Linked DNA regions of Homo sapiens: all the other regions are linked to region 3. Evidence: promoter capture Hi-C in human tissues and cell types (Jung and others, 2019). All regions are on one chromosome and are shown on one strand. Each heading gives the region's core, a stretch centred on a gene start or on the middle of the fragment in contact. The rest is flanking DNA. Distances are from core to core; before and after follow the strand shown.

Region 1 (3,080 bases), core at 268-2,767, 370 kb before region 3:
TTGCTCCAAGCCTTTGCTTGAACTGTGTTCTCCTCTAAAACAAGAACTCGGAAATGATGTCTGAGAATCACCTGAAAAGCTGGTCAAAGCACGGATTTCTGAGCTGGACTCCAGAGATTCTGAGTCAGCAGGTCTGCAGCCCGTGGTGACCAACAAATCTCAGTTTACCTAGGATTTTTTCAGTTTTAGCATCAGAAGCCCAGCCCCCCTGGCAAGCACAGATGTTTGGTTACCCTAGGTAGGGCCCAAAGTTTTGCATTTCTAGAAATTCCCAGGTGATGCTGATGCCCTCATCAGCAGATAACACTCTGCCTGTGTGCCTCCCGGTTCAAGTGATTCTCCTGCCTCAGCCTCCCGAGTAGCTGGGATTACAGGCATGCACCACCATGCCCGGCTAACTTGTATTTTTAATAGAGATGGGGTTTCTCCATGTTGGTCAGGTGGTCTCGAACTCCCGACCTCAGGTGATTACCTGCCTCGGCCTCCCAAAGTGCTGGGATTACAGGCGTGAGCCACCGCGCCCAGCCTGTGTCCTCCTTTCTTTAGGATGTCTAGTTTAAAATATAAAATAACCTGGGGCTGCTCATGGTCATCTTTGCAAATACATGGAACAGTTCTACCTGAGTGTGGCACCAGCAAAGATACAAGCAAAGAGAAGCAGAGTGAGGAAGACAGTCATGTCCTGATTTGGTCCCCTGATATGAACCCCATATTCCCAGTTAACTGAGCCAAGAAATTTCCTTGTTTGTTTAAGCCAGTGTAGATTGAGTTTCTGTCACTTGCAATCAAAAGAATCATGGCTTAGGCTAGGCATGTGGCTCACGCTTGTAATCCCAGCATTTTGGGAGGCCAAGGCGGGTGGATCACCTGAGGTCAGGAGTTCGAGACCAGCCTGGCCAACATGGTGAAACCCCGTCTCTATTAAAAATACAAAATTAGCCAGGCATGGTGGTGGGTGCCTGTAATCCCAGGTACTCAGGAGGCTGAGGCAGGAGAATCGCTTGAACACCAGAGGTGGAGGCTGCAGTGAGCCGAGATTGTGCCATTGCACTCTCCAGCCTGAGCAACAGAGGGAGACTCCATCTCAAAAAAAAAAAAAAACATAAAAACCATGGCTAATGAACCTCACCTATGAGAAATGAAGAAGTAAGTGTTAGTGATAGGAAAAATATAATACCTTGAGGTCTAGTTATGATTATTTTACAGTGCCCTGATATTTCAATACCTACTTTATCAACTTCTGCAAGAAAGGATAATGGTAAATGGCCATCAGATTCTTCCTAGTTTGTCACAAGAATAAGCTGAACATGGACCAGGCAGTAGTTACACTTAATATAAATGAGCAAATGGGTCTTTTCAGCAACGTGGGGATCCTGTTTTGGTCTGACATTCTGCCAAATCGTCTTTCCTTCCCAGATGATCTTGATTGTGTCTTCAGTTACTACTTAAGGATCTGTGGTCAAATAGGTTTTTTTTTTTAAAAATGCTTGTATTCATAAACTATTTAGATGCAGCAAACTTACCAAATTTTGTGAGGACATAGAAGAATCTTTATGTTAAAGTTCTCCTGAACCTGTTCTTTTTATAAGCTGTCTCTCTTTGATATGGCATCAGTTGATTATTGAGAGCCAACTTGTCAGAAAAACCTGTACCTGTATCAAGATTATTTAGTTGAATCTGAAAAAAATAGAAGAAATAAGGATCCTGCTAATAAGGTCGAACATTCTAGTGCTTGCTTGGTAAAATTTGGAGAGCAAAGAGATCTTGGTGAATGATTACATAATTAAACTAAAAGATGGCTTTTCAGTGTCAGTGATTTTTGTTTCTGTTTGGATGATTATTTAAAAGAGTGACGTAGTTTCCCTCTGGCCACTGTCTTTATTTTCTTTGGCTTTTTGCTCATTTTGTGTGTAATGCACTGCAATGGGACCCTGAAGTCGCTAAGTGCCTTATGAGGAACTGGCTCCAATGACCTGCTTGCCAGTGCAAACAAGTCTGACAAGTTTAATGACCCCACTGAGCATAAAAGCAGCTGAGCCGGCCAGGCGGGCACAAGCTCTTCTCCGGTGGCATGCAACCAAGTCCAGGATTATTTCTGGTTTCAAATACTGAGTTTGGTTTTAAGGCTGTCTTCCAAACTACCCTGGCAACTGCTGTCTATCAATCATACCTTCTTTCCATCTTTCACAAATGTTTATTAGAATCTGCAGCTGGGGTCAGAGAGATGGGTAGGACTTGAACTCTTTTCTGATGGAACTTCCAGTCCTGTCAGGGAGATGGGTCTATCAATACACTTAAAAGGACACAGCCTAATAGTGCTGTGATGTGCCCCACAGGCTTAGGGATCATGGAGAAGGGGAGCTCTCTGCAATAGAGAGTATTTTCTCTATTAGAGACATTTTATTAATGAGTATGCTCGTGTGTAACACTCTTCCTCGGTAACGGTCATTTCTCAAAATACTTCTAAAAAAATAAAGAAAAAATCAGTTTCTCAGCTCTATGTGCTGTAACTCTATGATGAAGGTTTTCCCTACTTTTTATTTGGAGGTTTTTCAAACATACGGATAATTTGCAATAATGATATAATGAACAGTTGTAAACTCTTTACCTAGATTCACCAGTTGTTAACTTTCCCCCATATCTGCTTTATCTTTTTACTCTCTGAAAATATGAATTCACTAAATGATTTGAAAGTAAGTTGCAAACATCACGGCTCTTCTCCTCTAAATAATTCAACCAACACTGCCTAAAATAAGTGCATTCTCTTATAAACACACGATATTATTATTACACTGAGAAATGTAAAATTCCATAATATAACGTACAATCCATATTCAAATACACCAAGTTGTCTCAAAAATATTTTTTATGGCTGTTTATTATTTTAATCTAGGATATGATCAGGGTTTGTGCACTGGATTTGGTTCTCAGTCTAATCTAGAACAGTCCTCCTGCCTTTTGTTGTTTCTCATGCCATTGATTTTTTTTTTTGACACATTCAGGCCACTTGTACAATATCCCACAGTTTCTATTTATTTGATGGTTTTTCAGTATTTGATTCCAGTTTTTAAATATTTACA
Region 2 (2,866 bases), core at 324-2,823, 400 kb before region 3:
CAGCTGATCTTTCAGCAGAAACTCTATAAGCCAAAAGAGAGTGGGGACCAATATTCAACATTTTTAAAGAAAAGAATTTTCAACCCAGAATTTCATATCCAGCCAAACTAAGCTTCATAAGCAAAGGAGAAATAAAATCCTTTACAGACAAGCAAATGCTGAGAGATTCTGTCACCACCAGGCCTGCCTTAGAAGAGCTCCTGAAGGAAGCACTAAATATGGAAAGGAAAAACCAGTACCAACCACTGCAAAAACATATCAAATTGTAAAGAATAACGACACTATTAAGAAACTGAATCAACTAATGTGCAAAATAACCAGCTAGCATCATAATGACAGGATAAAATTCACACATAACAATATTAACCTTAAATGTAAATGGGCTAAATGCCCCAATTAAAAGACACAGACTGACCAATTGGATAAAGAGCCAAGACCCCTTGGTGTGCTGTATTCAGGAGACCCATCTCATGTGCAAAGACACACATAGGCTCAAAATAAAGGGATGGAGGAATATTTACCAAGCAAATGGAAAGAAAAAAAAAAAGAAGCAGGGTTTGCAATCCTAGTCTCTGATAAAACAGACTTTAAATCAACGAAGATCAAAAGAGACAAATAAGGGCATTACATAATGGTAAAGGGATCAATGCAAAAAGAAGAGCTAACTATCCTAAATATATATGCACCCAATAGAGGAGCACCCAGATTCACAAAGCAAGTTCTTAGAGACCTACAAAGAGACTTAGACTCCCACACAATAATAGTGGGAGACTTTAACACCCCATTGTCAATATTAGATCAATGAGACAGAAAATTAACAAGGATATTCAGGACTTGAACTCAGCCCTGGACAAAGCGGACCTAATAGACATCTACAGAACTCTCCACCCCAAATCAACAGAATATACATTCTTCTCGGCACCACATTGCACTTAGTTTAAAATTGACCGCATCATTGGAAGTAAAACACCTCCTCAGCAAATGCAAAAGAACTGAAATAATAACAAACAGTCTCTCAGACCACAGTGCAATCAAATTAGAACTCAGGATTAAGAAACTCACTCAAAATCATAAAACTGCAAGGAAACTGAACAACCTGCTCCTGAATGACTACTAGGTAAATAATGAAATTAAAGCAGAAATAAATAAGTTATTTGAAAGCAATGAGTACACACAATGTACCAGAATCTCTGGGATACAGCTAAAGCAGTGTTTAGAAGTAAATTTATAGCACTAAATGCCCACAGGAGAAAGTGGGAAAGATCTAAAATCAACACCCTAACATCACAATGAAAAGAACTAGAGAAGCAAGAGCTAACAAACTGAAAAGCTAGCAGAAGACAAGAAACAGCTAAGATCAGAGCAGAACTGAAGAAGATAGAGACACGAACAACCCTTTAAAAAATCAATGAACGCAGGAGCTGGTTTTCTGAAAAGATTAACAAAATAGATAGACCACTAACAAGACAAATAAAGAAGAAAAGAGAGAAGACTCAAATAGACACACAAAAATGATAAAGAGGATATCACTACTGATCCCACAGAAATACAAACTACCATCAGAGAATACTATAAACACCTTTACATAAATAAACTAGAAAATCTAGAAGAAATTCATAAATTCCTGGACACATACACCCTCCCAAGACTAAACCAGGAAGAAGGTGAATCCCTGAATAGACTAATAACAGGTTCTGAAATTGAGGCAGTAATTAATAGCCTATGAACCAAAAAAAGGCCAGGAACAGATGGATTCACAGCCAAATTCTACCAGAGGTACAAAAAGGAGCTGGTACCATTCCTTCTGAAACTATTCCAAACAACAGAAAAAGAGGGACTCTTCCCTACCTCGTTTTAGGTGGCCAGCATTATCCTGATACCAAAACCTGGCAGAGACACAACAAAAAAAGAAAATTTCAGGCCACCTGAAATTCAGGCACCTGATGAACATCAATGCGAAAATCCTCAATAAAATACTGGCAAACTGAATCCAGCAGCACATCAAAAAGCTTATCCACCACAATCAAGTCAGCTTCATCCCTGGGATGCCAGGCTGGTTCAACATACGCAAATTAATAAATGTAATCCATCACGTAAACAGAACCAACGCCCAAAAACCACGATTATCTCAATAGATGCAGAAAAGGCCTTCAATAAAACTCAACACCCATTCATGCTAAAAACTCTCAATAAACTAGGTATTGATGGAACGTATCTCAAAATAATAAGAGCTATTTATGACAAACCCACAGCCAATATCATACTGAATGGGCAAAAGCTGGAAGCATTCCTTTTGAAAACTGGCCAAGACAAGGATACCCTCTCTCACCACCCCTATTCAACATAGTATTGGAAGATCTAGCCAGAGCAATCAGGCAAGAGAAAGAAAAAAAGGGTATTCAAATAGGAAGACAGGAAGTCAAATTGGCCCTGTTTGCAGATGACATGATTTTATATTTAGAAAACCCCAGTGCCTCAGCCCAAAATCTCCTTAAGCTGATAAGCAACTTCAGCAAAGTCTCAGGATACAAAATCAATGTGCAAAAATCACAAGCATTCCTATATACCAATAATAGACACACAGAAAACCAAATCATGAGTGAACTCCCATTCACAATTGCTACAAAGAGAATAAAATACCTAGGAATCCAACTTTTAAGGGATGTGAAGGACCTCTTCAAGAGAACTACAAACCACTGCTCAAGGAAATAAGAGAGGACACAAACAAATGGAAGGACATTTCATGCTCACGGATAGAACCAATAATGTGAAAATGGTCATACTGCTCAAAGTAATTTATAGATTCAATGCTATCCCCATCAAGCTACCATTGACTTTCTTCACAGAATTAGAAAAAACTACTTTA
Region 3 (2,950 bases), core at 208-2,707:
ACGCCTGTCACCATCCACTGGCCAACTCTTCTAGGCTCCCTCCTTTCGATGGTCTGGTGGCTAGAGAACAGCACTTGTGTGACACATTTGGGCTTGCCCTCCCGCCTCGCCCCCAGTACACAGACCCTTTCCTTGGAGGGCCAACCACTTGGCTTCCTCACCATGAGTGCTCCGGGAATCCAGCTGCGAGTCTGCCCACCGTTCCCCCATTCCCTCCTGACCCCATAGGGCACTGATAATGGATGCACACCGGCCACTCCACCGCAGGCCATCCCCCAACGTGCCCCGGCTCCGCTCGCCACCCGCTGGGCCACACACACGGCTCCCCACGCCACCACCCCATGGGGTGCCGCGGCCACGACACTGGAAGTTCAACCCCTCTGCCCACCTTTCCACCCCCGCGCCTCTGGTCGGAGTGATCTGCCATTTAGCAGATGCACAGCAGATAAGGTACAGCCCTCAGGGACACGAAAAGGAACAAGCCAAGGCACCGGGCAGGGCAGCCCCGACCCCTGTGCTGCGTGTGTGTGTCGCTGTGTGTGTGTGTGTGTGTGTGTGTGTGTGTGTCTGTGTGTAACGCGCCCGCGCGCCCGCGCGGGTGAAGGCAGTGGCCGGGGGCGCGCCCGGGAGGGTAGGGGCGAACCGCGGGCGCCGGGGGGCGGGGGCGCCGAAGGCAGCTGCCCCGCAGGGCCAAGGATGGTGGGCTGGGGGCGCAGAGGCCCGGCGGGGCCCCGGACGGTACTCACCGAGCAGCAGCAGCTTGAGCTCCCGGCGGGCGTCCCGCTTGTCCCTGCGGAGCTGCCGCTCGATCTCGTCGTTGATCCGCCGGGCTTCCTTGGCCTCCTCGCTCAGGCAGCACGCCATGATGGACTCCAGAGTCATTCTTCCAAAGTGCCTCCGCTGCAGCCCCGCCGGCACCCCCTGCTCACAGCGCGCACACACACCCTCCCGCCCTCGCTCCCCCGAGGCAGCGGTGGCCGCCGAGCCCCCGCCGCCCGGGCGCGCGTCCGGGACGAGCTCCGGGAACCGCCGCGGGGGCGGCGGCCAGGGCCGGGGCCACCAGGTGGGCCGGGGGCGCGGTGGGAGCGGATAGTCTGGGCCGACGGGAGAAGAGAGGCGGGCGCGGGAGGCGGGCGCTGGCTCGGGGGGCGCGTGAGAGAAGGCCGCCGCGCCCGGCCTCGCTCAGACGCCCGCGCCTCCTTCCCCGGGAACAGGCGGCCCGCCTCGCCCCCCGAGCCGCCGCCGCCGCCGCCGCCTGCGAGGCTCCCCTACGCCGTGCGCCTGGCGGCGAGAGCTCATTCACCGGGGTGTCCCCGCAGCGAGCGGCCGCCGACGGCTCCCCGCGCCCGGCGCGCCCGCTCCTCGCCGCCGCCTGACACGGCTCCCGGGCGCCCTCGGCCCTGTCCGCGCCCACCGCCCGGCTCGCGCGCAGACCCGGTTCCCGTCCCGCCCGGCAACCGCGCGCTCCTCCGCCTCCGCCTCCGCCCCCGCCCCCGCCAGACGCCCACCCCCTGCCCCGATTGCCAGGCGCGGAGCGGCTGCTCAGTGCGAGCCCTCCCCCTCGCCACACACACACATTTTCTTCTTTCTCTGAACTGGAGCACAGATCCGGGAGGGAGGAGGCGGCGGCGAAAGGAGGAGGAGGAAGAGGCGGAGGGGATGGGCGCGGGAGGAGGGAGCCGGGAGGCGGTGCCGCCCGGCCCCTCCTGGAAGGCTTTCCTGGGCTCGCGGCCGCCGCGGCGCGCCTCCCAGTGCGGCTCTCGCCTCGCCCGCGCGGCTCCCGGGCTGGGCCGGCCCCCGCGGGCTCTGCGGACGCCTACTGCTCCCGCACCCTCGGCAGAGTCCGCGGGCGCAGCAGTCACGGCCGCCCCCGGCCGAAGTCGGGGCCAGACCCGGCCGCCGACGCGCAGCCCGAGCCGGCGGCCGCCGTTGCGTGCCAGGGCCGCAGCCGACCTGCGGCTGCCGTCCGGCCGGGCGTGGTGAGACAGGAATATGGCGGCCTCTGCCTGCCTCAGCCCACCGGCCCGGGAGCGCGGCCGCGGCCCCTGCTGAAGTCGCGGGAGGCGGCCCCGCGGAGCCCCGCACGCGCTCCCTGCGGCGCCGGCGCTGGCGTCCGCCGCTCCCGGGCTGTGCCTGTCTGCTCCACGGGGTCGCTCCTCAGCCGTTTCTGTGTTTCCCGTTCCTATTTCTAAAACGCCATTCGGTTAGAAACTCTCACGTCACCTCTGACACCGGTGCAGTCTTAGAAAATAAGCTCCTCTATACTGTGTGGGGCTACTGGGGAAGGGAAGGGAAGGAATTGGCACCGGTGCCCAGAGGTGTAGGGGGAGATTCACAGGCGAAGCTGTTCGCAAAGTAACGTGAGATAGAAATCTAAATCCTGAACAGAGAAAGGAAGCTGCCCAAGTTTCCAAGAGCCTCCCGATAGGTTCCAACTTTTCATGCCTTTGTTTTTTTGGTGGTTGTTGGTTGTTTTTGTTTTTTTAAGTTGTTTTTGTTTTTGTTTTACAAGTTCTCTTGTTTCTGAGAAGGCACACGATGTTTAGCCGCCGAGTAATCGAATTTACTCTTCTAGACTGAGATTGAATTATGGATGACTTATGGGAAAATGTAAAATAATGTGGAATAAAAGGAAAGGAAAGAATGAAATAGAAGAGAAACTAAGGAGGCCCCAGCAAAACGGCATTCTAGTTTTTTTGATTTGCAATATGTGATTGAGGCAGTAAACTGTCGTATGCACATTTCATTGTGATCGTCTACTGATAAATAGCACACGAAAATAATCTTGTTTAATCAGGCCCAGGAGATGAAACTCATATTGCTTCCTGCCTTAAAGGAACCTGAGGTCTTCAAAGAAAATTGTCTTTTATGAAGAGAACCGCTTTTTCACGTTTCATGTGTTCTCTGAAGTGTCCCTGGTGCAACCTGCTGATCCAGAGTGTAAGGTACG

What was found. Contacts are between HindIII fragments. The study calls those that stand out against the background at their distance.
Region 1: a contact is called between a fragment that was not itself captured here and the fragment with the promoter of GNAQ in region 3, in 1 of the 25 tissues and cell types used here (dorsolateral prefrontal cortex).
Region 2: a contact is called between a fragment that was not itself captured here and the fragment with the promoter of GNAQ in region 3, in 1 of the 25 tissues and cell types used here (mesenchymal stem cells).

Annotation. Positions count from the first base shown.
Region 1 is chr9:77,661,969-77,665,048 of GRCh38, forward strand. No RefSeq gene overlaps it. Among named protein-coding and RNA genes, the nearest start is that of GNA14, 15 kb to the left of the region's middle. The HindIII fragment of the contact is 7,591 bases long and covers 1-3,080 here.
Region 2 is chr9:77,625,526-77,628,391 of GRCh38, forward strand. The region is part of intron 1 of GNA14 (G protein subunit alpha 14); the gene reads right to left. Among named protein-coding and RNA genes, the nearest start is that of GNA14, 21 kb to the right of the region's middle. The HindIII fragment of the contact is 5,566 bases long and covers 1-2,866 here.
Region 3 is chr9:78,030,354-78,033,303 of GRCh38, forward strand. GNAQ (G protein subunit alpha q) reads right to left here and starts at 1,458. Exons shown (of 7, transcript NM_002072.5): 1 at 747-1,458. The coding sequence starts at 882. RefSeq lists an enhancer at 647-1,541. The HindIII fragment of the contact is 13,439 bases long and covers 1-2,950 here.